Regions from separate parts of the Homo sapiens genome. Here region 1 is linked to region 2. Evidence: promoter capture Hi-C in 16 types of primary human blood cells and fetal thymus (Javierre and others, 2016). All regions are on one chromosome and are shown on one strand. The core of a region is centred on a gene start or on the middle of the fragment in contact, and the rest is flanking DNA. Distances in the headings are between cores, read along the strand shown.

Region 1 (6,136 bases), core at 2,695-5,194, 520 kb after region 2:
CACTTTAGGAGGCTGAGGCGGGTGGATCACCTGGGGTCAGGAGTTTGAGACTAGTCTGGCCAACATGGTGAAACCCCCATCTCTACTAAAAATACAAAAATTAGCCGGGCATGGTGGTGGGCGCCTGTAATCCCAGCTTCTTGGGAGGCTGAGGGAAGAGAATTGCTTGATCCCGGAGGTTGCAATGAGTGCGGAGGTTGCAGTGAGCTGAGATCATGCCATTACACTCCAGCCTGGGCAACAGAGCGAGACTCTGTCTCAAAACAAACAAACAAACAAAAAAAGGAGGATCTCATTTTTTTGTCCTAAATAGCTACAGCCGTGTTAGAACTGTCACCTTAGCAAAGTATTGTTTTTTTACTTTGAAACGAATTTTAAGGTTTTAGAAGATTGTTCTCTAGAATTACAATTTTCTGTTTTGACTAGTGATAGTATTTTGATGTTGTGTAAATAGTTGAGCATGAACAAAACCCTATTTTTTTTTTTAGCTATTTCAAGTGATTGTGACAACTTCAACGGAGATGTAAACAGTTTATTAACAGTCACACCTATTATCTTTTTTTTTTTTTTTTTTTTTTGAGACGGAGTCTTGCTCTGTCGCCCAGGCTGGAGTGCAGTGGCACGATCTCTGCTTACTGCAACCTTTGCCTCCCGGGTTCAAGTGATTCTCCTGCCTCAGCCTCCTGAGTAGCTGGGTCTACATGCGCACACCACCACGCCTGGCTAATTTTTGTATTTTTAGTAGAGACAGGGTTTCACCATGTTGGCTAGAATGGTCTCAAACTCCTGACCTCAGGTGATCCACCTGCCTCAGCCTCCCAAAGTTCTGGGATTACAGGCATGAGCCACCGTGCTTGGCCGCTGCCGTATCTTTTTAAATGAAAGTACTTGTGTTTTTTTTGTTTTTTTCCAAAGGATATCTGGGTCATCTATGATGTTACTGTTACCATCTAAGGGTTTTTTTGTTTGTTTTTGAGACAGAGTCTCTGTCGCCCAGGCTGGAGTGCAGTGGCGTGATCTTGGCTCACTGCAACCTCCGCCTCCCAGGTTCAAGCAATTCTCCTGCCTTAGCCCTCCCGAATAGCTGGGATTACAGGCACCCGCCACCATGCCTGGCTAAGTTTTGCATTTTTAGTAGATATGGAGTTTCACCATGTTGGCCAGGCTGCTCTTGAACTCCTGACCTCAGGTGATTCGCTTGCCTCGGCCTCCCAAAGTGCTGGGATTACAGGCGTGAGCCACCCCCGCCCAGCCTCATGAGCTAAGGTGTTTTTTTTTTTTTTGAGACAGTTTTGCTCTTTCCCAGGCTGGAGTGCAGTGGTGCAATCTCAGCTCACTGCAACCTCTGTTTCCCGGGTTCAAGCGATTCTCCTGCCTCAGCCTTCTGAGTAGCTGAGATTACAGGTGCCTGCTACCCCACTCAGCTAATTTTTGTATTTTTAGCAGAGACAGGGTTTCACCATGTTGGTTAGGCTCATCTCGAACTCCTGACCTTAAGCGATCCACCTGCCTTGGCCTCCCAAAGTGCTGGGATTATAGGCATGAGCCACCGTGCGCAGCCTACCCTGTCTCTTAAAAAACAGTAACAACAACAACAACAACAAAAAATCCTAAATCTTAAAAATGGAAGGCAAAAACTCTAAGCTTTGAGAGATTAGGGGACTTGCCCAAAGCAATATTTGTAGGATTTTATTACACCTCTCCCTTTATTTATTTTTTTAGAGTCAAGGTCTCCCTCTGTCACCCAGGCTGGAGTGCAGCCTCAATCTATGGGGCCAAGCATTTCTCCTGTCTTAGCCTCCTGAGTAGCTGGAACTACAGGTGTACACCAGCTGGCTAACATTTAAATTTTTTGTAGAGACAGGGTCCTGCCATGTTGCCCAGATTGGTCTCAAACTCCTGGGCTCAAGTGATCCTCCTGCCTCAGCTTCCCAAAGTGCTGAGATTACAGGTGTGAGCCACTGCACCGAGCCCCCTCCCTTTATTTTTATTTTTAAATTTTAAGTTCTGGGGCCCCTCCCTTGAAATAAATAGAAACGTAATATATACACAAGATCATGCTGTGTATTTTAAGGCAATGGTCCTCAACCTTTTTAACACTAGGGACCGGTTTTGTGGAAGATGGTTTTTCCATAGGGGCAGGGGATGATTTTGAGATGAAACTGTTCCACCGGCCGGGCACGGTGGCTCACGCCTGTAATCCCAGCACTTTGGGAGGCCGAGGCGGGCAGATCACGAGGTCAGGAGATCGAGACCATCCTGGCTAACATGGTGAAACCCCCCTCTACTAAAAATACAAAAAAATTAGCTGGGCGCGGTGGAGGGCGCCTGTAGTCACAGCTACTCCGGAGGCCGAGGCAAGAGAATGGCATGAAACCCGGGAGGCAGAGCTTGCAGTGAGCTGAGATAGCACCACTGTACTTCAGCCTGGGGGACAAAGTGAGACTCCGTCTAAAAAAAAAAAAATTGTTCCACCTCAGATCATTATGCATTTGTTAGATTCTCATAAAGAGCATACAACCTACATCTCTTGCTATATGCAGTTCCCAGTAGGGTTTGTGCTTCTATAAGAACCTAATGCTGCACCTGATCTAACAGGTGGGGCTCAGGTGCTAATGCTCACACAGCTCCTGTTGTGCAGTCTGGTTCCTAACAGGCCTGTTTTTTTTTTTTTAATTAGATGGAGTCTCGCTCTGTCACCAGGCTGGAGTGCAGTGGCACGATCTCAGCTCACTGCAACCTCTGCCTCCCGGGTTCAAGCGATTCTCCTGCCTTAGCCTCCCATGTAGTTGGTACTACAGGCGCACACTGTGATGCCCAGCTAATTTTTGTATTTTTAGTAGAGACGGGGTTTCACCATGTTGGCCAGGATGGTGTCGATCTCCTGACCTTGTGATCCGCCCAACAGCCTCCCAAAGTGCTGGAATTACAGGCGTGAGCTGCTGCGTCCGGCCCCCTAACAGGCTTGTTTTATGGAATACAGTCACGGACAGTACTTGCCCTTCAGGATATCTTTTTGTAACCTTGATTTTGGCTTGCTAAAATAGGAGGTCTATTTTCTTTTCTTTGTTTTTAATGTATGTGGTTCTGTACTTACGTGGTGTGAAATCTACATAAATGTTAAATCCTTGGTTATTTATTTATTTTGAGACAGAGTCTCACTCTGTCACCCAGTCTGGAAAGCAGTGGCATAATCTCGGCTCACTGTAACCTCCACTTCCCAGGTTCCAGTGATTCTCCTGCCTCAGCCTCCTGAGTAGCTGGGATTACAGGCATGCACCACTACACCTGGCAAATTTTTGTATTTTTTTTTAGTAGAGATGGGGTTTCACCATGTTGGCCAGGCTCGTCTTGAACTCCTGACCTTAGGTGATCTGCCTGTCTTGGCCTCCCAAAGTTTTGGGATTACAGCATGAGCCACTGCGCCTCGCCTTATTTTTTTGAGACAGGTTCTAGCTCTGTCACCCAGGCGGGAGTGCAGTGGTGCCATCATGGCTCATTGCAACCTCGAGTTCTCAGGCCCAAGTGATCCTCCTATCTCAGCCTCCTGAGTAGCTGGGACCACAGGCATGCGCCACTATGCCCAGCAAAATTTTTGTTTCACTCTGTTGCCTAGGGTGGGGTGCAGTGGCAGGATATCGGCTCAGTGCAACCTCTGCCTCTTGCGTTCAAATGATTCTCATGCCTCAGCCTCCCGAGTAGCTGGGATTATAGGCATGCGCCACTACACCTGGCTAATTTTTGTATTATTGGTAGAGATGGGGTTTTATCATGTTGGCCAGGCTGGTCTCGAACTCCCGACCTCAGGTGATCCATATACCTTGGCCTCCTGAAGTGCTGGAATTACAGGCATAAGCCACTGCGCCTAGCTTTTTTGTTTGTTTTTATTTTGTAGGGACAGAGATTTTACCTGTTGCCCAGGATGGCCTTGAATTCCTGACCTCAAACAATTTGCCCTCCTTGGCCTCCCAAGGTGCTGGGATTACAGGTGTGAGCCACTATGCCTGGCTGGTTTTTTAAATTATTATTATTGTTTGTGTGTGTGTGTTGCAGGATCTTACCCTGTCACCCAGGCTGGAATGCAGTGATGTGATCTCGGCTTACTGCAACCTCCGCCTCCTAGGTTCAAGTGATTGTCCTGCCTCAGCCTCCTGAGTAGCTGGGATAACAGCTGTGTGCCACCATGCCTGGCTAATTTTTGTATTTTTAGTAGAGATGGGGTTTCATCATGTTGGCCAGGCTGGTCTCGAACTCCTGACCTTAGATGATCCACCCGCCTCGTCCTCCCAAAGTGCTGGGATTACAGGTGTGAGCCACCGTGACCAGTTTGGTTTAGTTTTTTTTTTTTTTTTTTTTTTTTTTTTTTTTTGAGAAATCTCGCTCTGTCGCCCAGGCTAGAGTGCGGTGACACAATCTCAGCTCACTGCAAGCTCCACCTCCCAGGTTCATGCCATTCTCCTGCCTCAGCCTCCCGAGTAGCTGGGACTACATGCGCCCGCCACCATGCCCGGCTAATTTTTTTTATGCATTTTAAGTAGAGATGGGGTTTCACTGTGTTAGCCAGGATTGTCTCAATCTCCCGACCTCTTGATCTGCCCGCCTCGGCTTCCCAAAGTGCTGGGATTATAGGCATGAGCCACCGCGTCCGGCCTGGTTTGGTATTTTTTTTATGAGTCTGGGTTGTTTATGAAAACTTGTCACAGCTGTTAACCTTAACTTTTTTTTTTTCTTTTTTTTCCGAGACGGAGTCTCGCTCTGTCACCTAGGCTGGAGTGCAGTGGTGCGATCTCGGCTCATTGCAACCTCTGCCTCCCAGGTTAAAGCGATTTTTCTGCCTCAGCCTCCTGAGTAGCTGGGACTGCAGGCACGCACCATCTCGCCTGGCTAATTTTTGTATTTTAGTAGAGATGGGGTTTCACCATATTGGCCAGGCTGGTCTGGAACTTCTGGCCTCAAGTGATCCACCTGCCTTGGCCTCCCATGCCTGGCAACCTTAACTTTTTATTTGCTGGTAATTATTTGTGTTTGCATTCATGTGAAAATTTGAAATTCTCATTAACATTTAAAGATTCTTACATAGATTGCTTGTAATTTTAACCCTGAAGTTGTGTCAAGTGACTTTACAATGTCAATTTGTTTTATTTATTTATTTATTTATTTATTTATTTATTTTTGTGATAGGATCTGGCTCTGTTGCTAAGGCTGGAGTGCAGTGTTGCAAATACGGCTCACTGCAACCTCTGTCTCCCGGGTTCAAGCCATCCTCCCACCTCAGCCTCCCAAGTAGTTGGAACTACTGGTGCGCCCCACAGTGCCTGCCTAGTTTTTTTGTATTTTCAGTAGATGTGGAGTTTTGCCATGTTGATCTTGAACTCATGGCCTCGAGTGATCCACCCCACTTAGGCCTCCTAACATGCTGGTGTTACAGGTGTGAGCCACTGTGTCCAGCCCGAAAATGTCAGTTTCGTGCCATGATTAATAGCTAACTACATTTTGGGAATGTAATAAAATTTCATTCTATAATGAAGTCTTTGTAAAACTCATTAGTTGTGGTATGAGGCTTGTCGGCAATATAAGTGAACGTGGTTTATTTTTATTAACTGTATCAGAACTTTAGAATGTTGGTCTCCTGAAACCATTGCCTTGAGAGGCTTTATTGAACAGTGTTGCCAATGATCAGTTTTTTTTTAAATTTCCTTTTTTTTGAGACTGAGTCTTACCCTGTTGGCCAGGTTGGAGTATAGTGGTATGGTCATGGCTCACTGCAGCCTCAACATCCTGGGCTCAAGCAGTCCTCCTACCTCAGTCTCCCGAGTAGCTGGAACTACAGGTGTATGCCACCATGCCTGGCTTTTGTATATTTTGTAGAGACAGGGTTTAGCCATGTTGCCCAGGCTGGTCTCAAACTCTTAAATTCAAATGATCCACCCACCTAGTTTTCCCAAAGTGCTTTAATTACATGTGTGAGGCACCGTGGCTGGCCAGGTCAAATATTTTTCATTGACGTTTTTCATATTGCTTTTTAAAGTCATGTTAAAATATTCTTAATAATTTTTCTAAGTGGAATTAATCTTGATTATAATTTTAGTTTTTTATAAAGGGCGGGTTTTGAAACAAGTACTGCATTTTTCTTTTC
Region 2 (6,040 bases), core at 296-2,795:
CCTTGGCCTTAAAGCATGACAAAATAACGAAAGAATTCCTAACAGGACCCATTTAGGATTAAACAAATTTTATTGGGGGTCTGAAGTAACTCCCCAAACCTCCGTGATTTAGTAGGAGGCAAGATAAGGATAATCACCCCAGCACCTATTGCCATTTAGATTAAGTAAATTTACTGAGGCTTCAAAGGAAAGTCTTCAGGACTCAAACCTTAGTTATAGACTAAAGTGAGTTAATCAATTATTATTATTATTATTTTTTTTTTTTTGAGACGGAGCCTCCCTCGCCCAGGCTGGAGTGCAGTGCCGGGATCTCGGCTCACTGCAAGCTCCGCCTTCCGGGTTCACGCCATTCTCCTGCCTCAGCCTCCCTAGTAGCTGGGACTACAGGCGCCTGTCACTGCGCCCAGCTAATTTTTTGTATTTTTAGTAGAGATGGGGTTTCACCGTGGTCTCGATCTCCTGACCTCGTGATCCGCCCGCCTTGGCCTCCCAAAGTGCTGGGATTACAGGCATGAGCCACCGCGCCCGGCGAGTTAATCACTTATGTCTTTAGATGAATGCACATTTACACGTAGACATATAGCTTAGAAGGTATATAAGCTCTGGAAAGCTTTGTAATTTTAAGTTGGTCTGGTGATAATTTCCAGGCCTTCTCCCTGTAACTGGTTGCAGAAATAAAAACTCGCTTCCTCTCCAGTTCATCTGCATCTCCTTACTGAACCAGGAGAAACAGCAGCCTGACGCTCAGTTTGGTCCAGGAACAGGTGGTGGAGGGCTCTCGAACTTTTTTCTTTTTTTTTTTTTTTTTTTGAGATGGAGTCTCGCTCTGTCGCCCAGGCTGGGGTGCAGTGGCGCGATCTCGGCTTACTGCAAGCTCCGCCTCCTGGGTTCACGCCATTCTCCTGCCTCAGCCTCATGAGTAGCTGGGACTACAGGCGCCCGCCACTACGCCCCGCTAACTTTTTTTGTATTTTTAGTAGAGATGGGGTTTCACCGTGTTAGCCAGGATGGTCTCGATCTCCTGACCTTGTGATCCGCCCGCCTCGGCCTCCCAAAGTGCTGGGATTACAGGCTGAGCCACAGCGCCCGGCTCTCTCGAACTTTTTTGGCAGATTTTTGCTGTTGATCAGCCCCGCTTCCCCAACTTTCCCCTGGGTCTCTCTCCCCCGGGAGTTTCTGGTTCCTCTGCGATTAATCACAGCCAAGTCTAGCTGGTTCTTCAGGACGGAGAATAAATAGGATAAACAGGAGCAGCCGAACCCTAACTTTGAGAGCTTTCTCCCCTCCTCTCCTAACTTCCCAGTCAGTGACTCGGAAGACTTTAACAGCAACAGCTGCCTCCTCTTGCCAGCTTGATCCCACCTGCTAAGTGAAGGAACAGCGTTTAAAGAGGTGGCAATCGGCAAGGGTGGATGCTTCCCTTTCCGCGCAGGCGCGTTCAGTCGCAGCACCGCGACTATCGTGATAGACAAGCGAGATCGACGCTGGCCCTTTAATAGCCCTTTCCCGGGGTCCTGCCCCGCGCGTGCGCACTGTGGTTCTGCGCTTGTCATCATGGCGACGCGGGGCCATGTGCAGGACCCTAACGACAGGCGCCTCCGGCCCATTTACGGTGAGTGTCTTGGACCAGCCCGCTCGCCAGCCCGACGCGCCGAGGGCTGCCGAGGCTGGGGCGAAAGCCCAGGAGGGGTGCTGAGGGCCGGCGCGCGGGCCGGGCAGGCGCAGGGGGGCGGGCCGCGCGGGCCACTAGGCCGCAGCCGCGGGCCTCGCGTAGGCGCCGGCCCAACCTTCCTCAGCCTTGGGGTGGTAGTGGCGCGGTCTGGGCAGCAGCTGGTCGGCAGAGCTGGCCTGCTTGGCAGGCCCCGTGGGACGCGTGGTTCTGCAGACACCTGCGCTACCCGCAGGCTGCATCGTTACCGCCGCTCCTAGGGAGACCGGAGATCTCCCCGAAGGTGGAAGCCGGCTCCGGCACGAGGGTGGGACGCCCTGCCTGAGGGAAGATTCCCTACCAGAGATTTTTTTTTATTTACGGGAATTGGGCCTAGAGGGTTGTCTGACTAGGTGGGCTTCGGTGCATAGGAGAAACTGAGGTCCGGAGTGGGGAAGGGGCTGACGCAAGGTCACCCAGATCGAGTCAGGAGCAGGCCCGAGATTCCAGGCTCCCAATCCAGAGCTGTTGGGTGGAGAAGCAGCTACTCTGGTCACACGTGGGAGGCGGGGGGAGGGGGTCTTGGGCCTAAAATAGCGGTGAAGAGATTGTGATAGCTCGTGTCAGAGGGGCATGCAGAGCTACTGGAGGGCTTCTCCTTTCTGCAGCTTCTCTGTGGTTTTCTCTGCAGCTTTCCTTCCCTGTGCTAAGCAGATCCCTCTCCACAACTCTTACCTCAACCCGCAGACTTGAAGACCTTGATGTCATCTCATCCATTTACCCTGGTAGTGAAAAATCACAGATTTTGAGTTTGGGAGAAACCCTTTTCCAATAACCGAAATGTGTAATTGGATTGGTCCTTTTTGCATTTCCTTTCCTCTTAGATGGTTTTATGGTCTTGGTCTATCTCACTTAATGGTGAGGAAGCTTCAAGGTCAGTGGTTTTTACAAAAGTAGACATCGTATTTATAGACCTCATGTGGATGTTACTAAATTGGAGGCTTCTCTCCAAGGTGGGAATCGTTTTGGGAGCGGGGGGCGGTGGTTAACTTTGTTTCTGGCCACAGTTAGTCCGGCTTTTATTTCATAATTTGTGTGATTTTTTTTTTTACTCTCACATCTCATTTGATTTTAGCAACAATCCTATAGCTAAGGTTTATAGATGACTCATTATGACAGTCACTGGCCTTGGCCTTTTATATGGGTTATCTAATATAATCTTCACCCATTCTCAAGAGGTGGCTACTGTTTTTTCCTGCCCCTGAACCCTTTAACAACAACAACAACAAAAAAAAAAACAGATGAGGAAACTGAGGCTTTATTGTTGTTGTGTAATTTGTCTAAGGCCACTCAGTTAGTATTTCTTGGAGCTAGAATTTGAACCCCTGTGGACTGTTTCAGGCTCACCTTTTTTTTCTTTTGAGATGAGTCTCACTCTGTCGTCCAGGTTGGAGTACAGTGGCACAATCTCAGTTCACTGCACCCTCTGCCTCCCAGGTTCAAGCGATTCTCCTGCCTCAGCCTCCTGAGTAGCTGAGATTACAGTTGCACGCCACCAGGCCCAGCGAACTTCCATGTTTTTAGTAGAGACAGGAGTTTACCATGTTAGCCAGGCTGGACTTGAACTCTTGACCTACTCAGCCTCCCAAAGTGCTGGGATTATAGGTGTGAGCCACCATGCCTGGCTCCAGGCTCACCTTTTTTTTTTTTTTTTTTTTTTTTTTGGAGACAGTCTCATTCTGTCATCCAGGCTAGAGTGCAGTTGCACAATCACAGTGCACTGCAACCAGCCTCCGCCTCCTGGGTTCAAGTGATTCTCCTGCCTCAGTCTCCTGAGTAGCTGGGATTACAGGTGCCCGCCACCATGCCGGCTAATTTTTGTATATATTGTAGAGAATGGGTTTCGTCATGTTGCCCAGTCTAGTCTAAAACTCCTGAGCTCAAGCAGTCCTGCCTCAGCCTCCCAGAGTGCTGGGATTACAGGTGTGAGCCACTGTGCCTGGCCCAGGCTCACCTTCTTAACCACTGTGCTAGAAACTACCTCACTTTGAGCTGAAGACACTGATTTGCCTGAGGTCACACAGATGGTAAGTGGCAGAGAAAGGACTCTGATTTCCTATTTCCCCGGGGCTGCATATTCTCATGCCCTTGCCCTCCAGTGTATATTTTCAGAGGGCAGAGATATATATACAAGGTGGGTGATGGAAGGTGAGAACTGAATCCAGGGTTCATAGTTTGTGACTCATTACAGCTTTGTGCAGCAGCTGCCTGCAGACTTTTTTTTTTTTAAACTAAAAACACTCAATACTTTCAAGAATAATTTGATTTTTAAAATTGTTCTTGAGGACCAAAGAGAATTTCTTTGGTCCCATAGTTATTTAGAATTAATAGTGTTTTGACTGTCTAATGGGAAACACCATGTCCATTTCACATCACTAAACATCAGGATATATTAACAAGTTATATTCTCAAAACTGAAGTCAGAATTATGTAGCTTTTGTAACATGTACATGGGAAGAGGATTAGAAGAGGCTTTCTTCAGTAATTCTAAGGCGATTAGTATAAACTGGCAGGACTAGGAAAAGAACGGTACAGACTGTCCGTGAATTCAGCACTTAAGCACATTTGACTTTTGAACTCCACACTTTTGTTGTTTAAATACATTACTACCCCCAAACAACCATGGTTCCTTGAATTCAGACATTCTGACAAATGAACAAACTCATCTATGGTGGTACTTGCCCACCAGCCAAAAATTCAACAACTATCAGCATTAATTAGTGTTTACTGGTGGGCTGACTGCCCTATTAGGTAGGTAAGATTATTGTGATCAAACTGAAGCCTAGAGATTAACTTGCTCAAGGTTGTAGCTACCAAGTTGTAGAGCTGGGATTTGAACATAGACATTCTCACTGAGAGCTCAGCTCTTCACCAAGTTCAGATTCAGTAGCATCACTGTCTTTGTACAACAGTATTTGTACTGCCAAGGTTTCAGGATTTATTTTACAATTGTGTTGGAAACCTTGCTTGGGGCCTCAGCTCTTGCTGGAATTCATTGAGGGTATATGTGGACAGGGCTATGTGGTGATAAATTGTGGTGGGTTGAAATTTTACTGGTGGTGTCTAGGGTTGGAATAGCTTTTCTGTGTGCATAGATTTGAAACATCTTCCCAGTGCATCTCACATTACTAATAAGTTTGGGTATTGCATTTTTCGTTTTTGAAAACCTCCACCCATGACCTTACTGGAACCCATACTTGATTATTTGGTCTCCTTTTGCTAAAATTATTCTCTTTTGCTACGTAGTTCCCAGCAGATTTTGTACTCTTGTGTGACTTGGTAAGCCCCAGTGCCTTCTTTCGTTATTTTTTTGAGACAGGATCTGGCTCTGTCACCCAGGCTGGAGTGTCTTGGCTCACTGTAACCTCCACTTCCCAGGCTCAAGTCATCCATCCACCTCAGCCTCCTGAGTACTGGGACTGCAGGCGGGCACCACCACGCCTGGCTAATTTTTGTATTTTTTGTAGAGACAGCATTTCACCATGTTGTTCAGGCTGGTCTCGAACTCCTGAGCTCAAGCAATCTGCCTGCCTTGGCCTCCCAAAGTGCTGGGGTTACAGGCGTGAGCCACTGCGCCCTGCCCATTATTATTATTATTTTTTTAAGAAGGAGTCTTGCTCTGTCACCCAGGCTGGAATGCAGTGGCGCGATCTTGGCTCACTGCAACCTCTGCCTCCTGGGTTCAAACAGTTCTCTGCCTCAGCCTCCTGAGTAGCTGGGTTACAGGCATGCACCACCATGCCCGGCTAATTTTTGTTTTTGTTTTTGTTTTGTTTTTTTTTTTGAGATGGAGTCTCACTCTGTCCTGCAGGCTGGGGTGCAGTGGCGTGATCTCCGCTCACTGCAAGCTCCACCTTCCGGGTTCACGCCATTCTCCTGCCTCAGCCTCCAGAGCAGCTGGGAATACAGGCGCCCGCCACCACGCCAGGTTAATTTTTTGTATTTTTAGTAGAGACAGGATTTCACCACATTGGCCAGGTTGGTCTTGAACTTCTGATCATGTGGTCCACTTGCCTCAGCCTCCCAAAGTGCTGGGATTACAGGCGTGAGCCACTGCACCTGGCCCCATTATTCTTAATTTTAAAACATTTTCAGTGGTTATGGATTAGGGAAGGGAAGGGATGGAGGGAGATAATAAATATTTGACTCTGTTTTGTTATGCAGCCTCCTCTACCCCATACTTTTATTTATTTATTTTTCTTTCTTTTTTTTCTTTTTTGTTTTTAATTTCACGCTCATATTTTTAGATAATTGGAAGTGGAATTGATGGTCAGGTATGGCACTTAATAAATTTGTATAGAATATGGGAATTGCTAGGTCAGCAAATTGCAT

The links. Contacts are between HindIII fragments. The CHiCAGO score rates a contact against its expected background, and 5 or more counts as called.
Region 1: a contact is called between a fragment that was not itself captured here and the fragment with the promoter of NAA25 in region 2, in 1 of 17 cell types (monocytes). The highest score is 5.3, in monocytes.

The regions. Positions count from the first base shown.
Region 1 is chr12:111,587,225-111,593,360 of GRCh38, reverse strand. The region is part of intron 1 of ATXN2 (ataxin 2); the gene reads left to right. Among named protein-coding and RNA genes, the nearest start is that of ATXN2, 9.0 kb to the left of the region's middle. RefSeq lists a silencer at 1,116-1,290. The HindIII fragment of the contact is 4,595 bases long and covers 1,647-6,136 here.
Region 2 is chr12:112,104,288-112,110,327 of GRCh38, reverse strand. NAA25 (N-alpha-acetyltransferase 25, NatB auxiliary subunit) reads left to right here and starts at 1,545. Exons shown (of 24, transcript NM_024953.4): 1 at 1,545-1,612. The coding sequence starts at 1,555. RefSeq lists silencers at 1,596-1,675, 1,696-1,775 and an enhancer at 3,376-3,877. The HindIII fragment of the contact is 1,965 bases long and covers 613-2,577 here.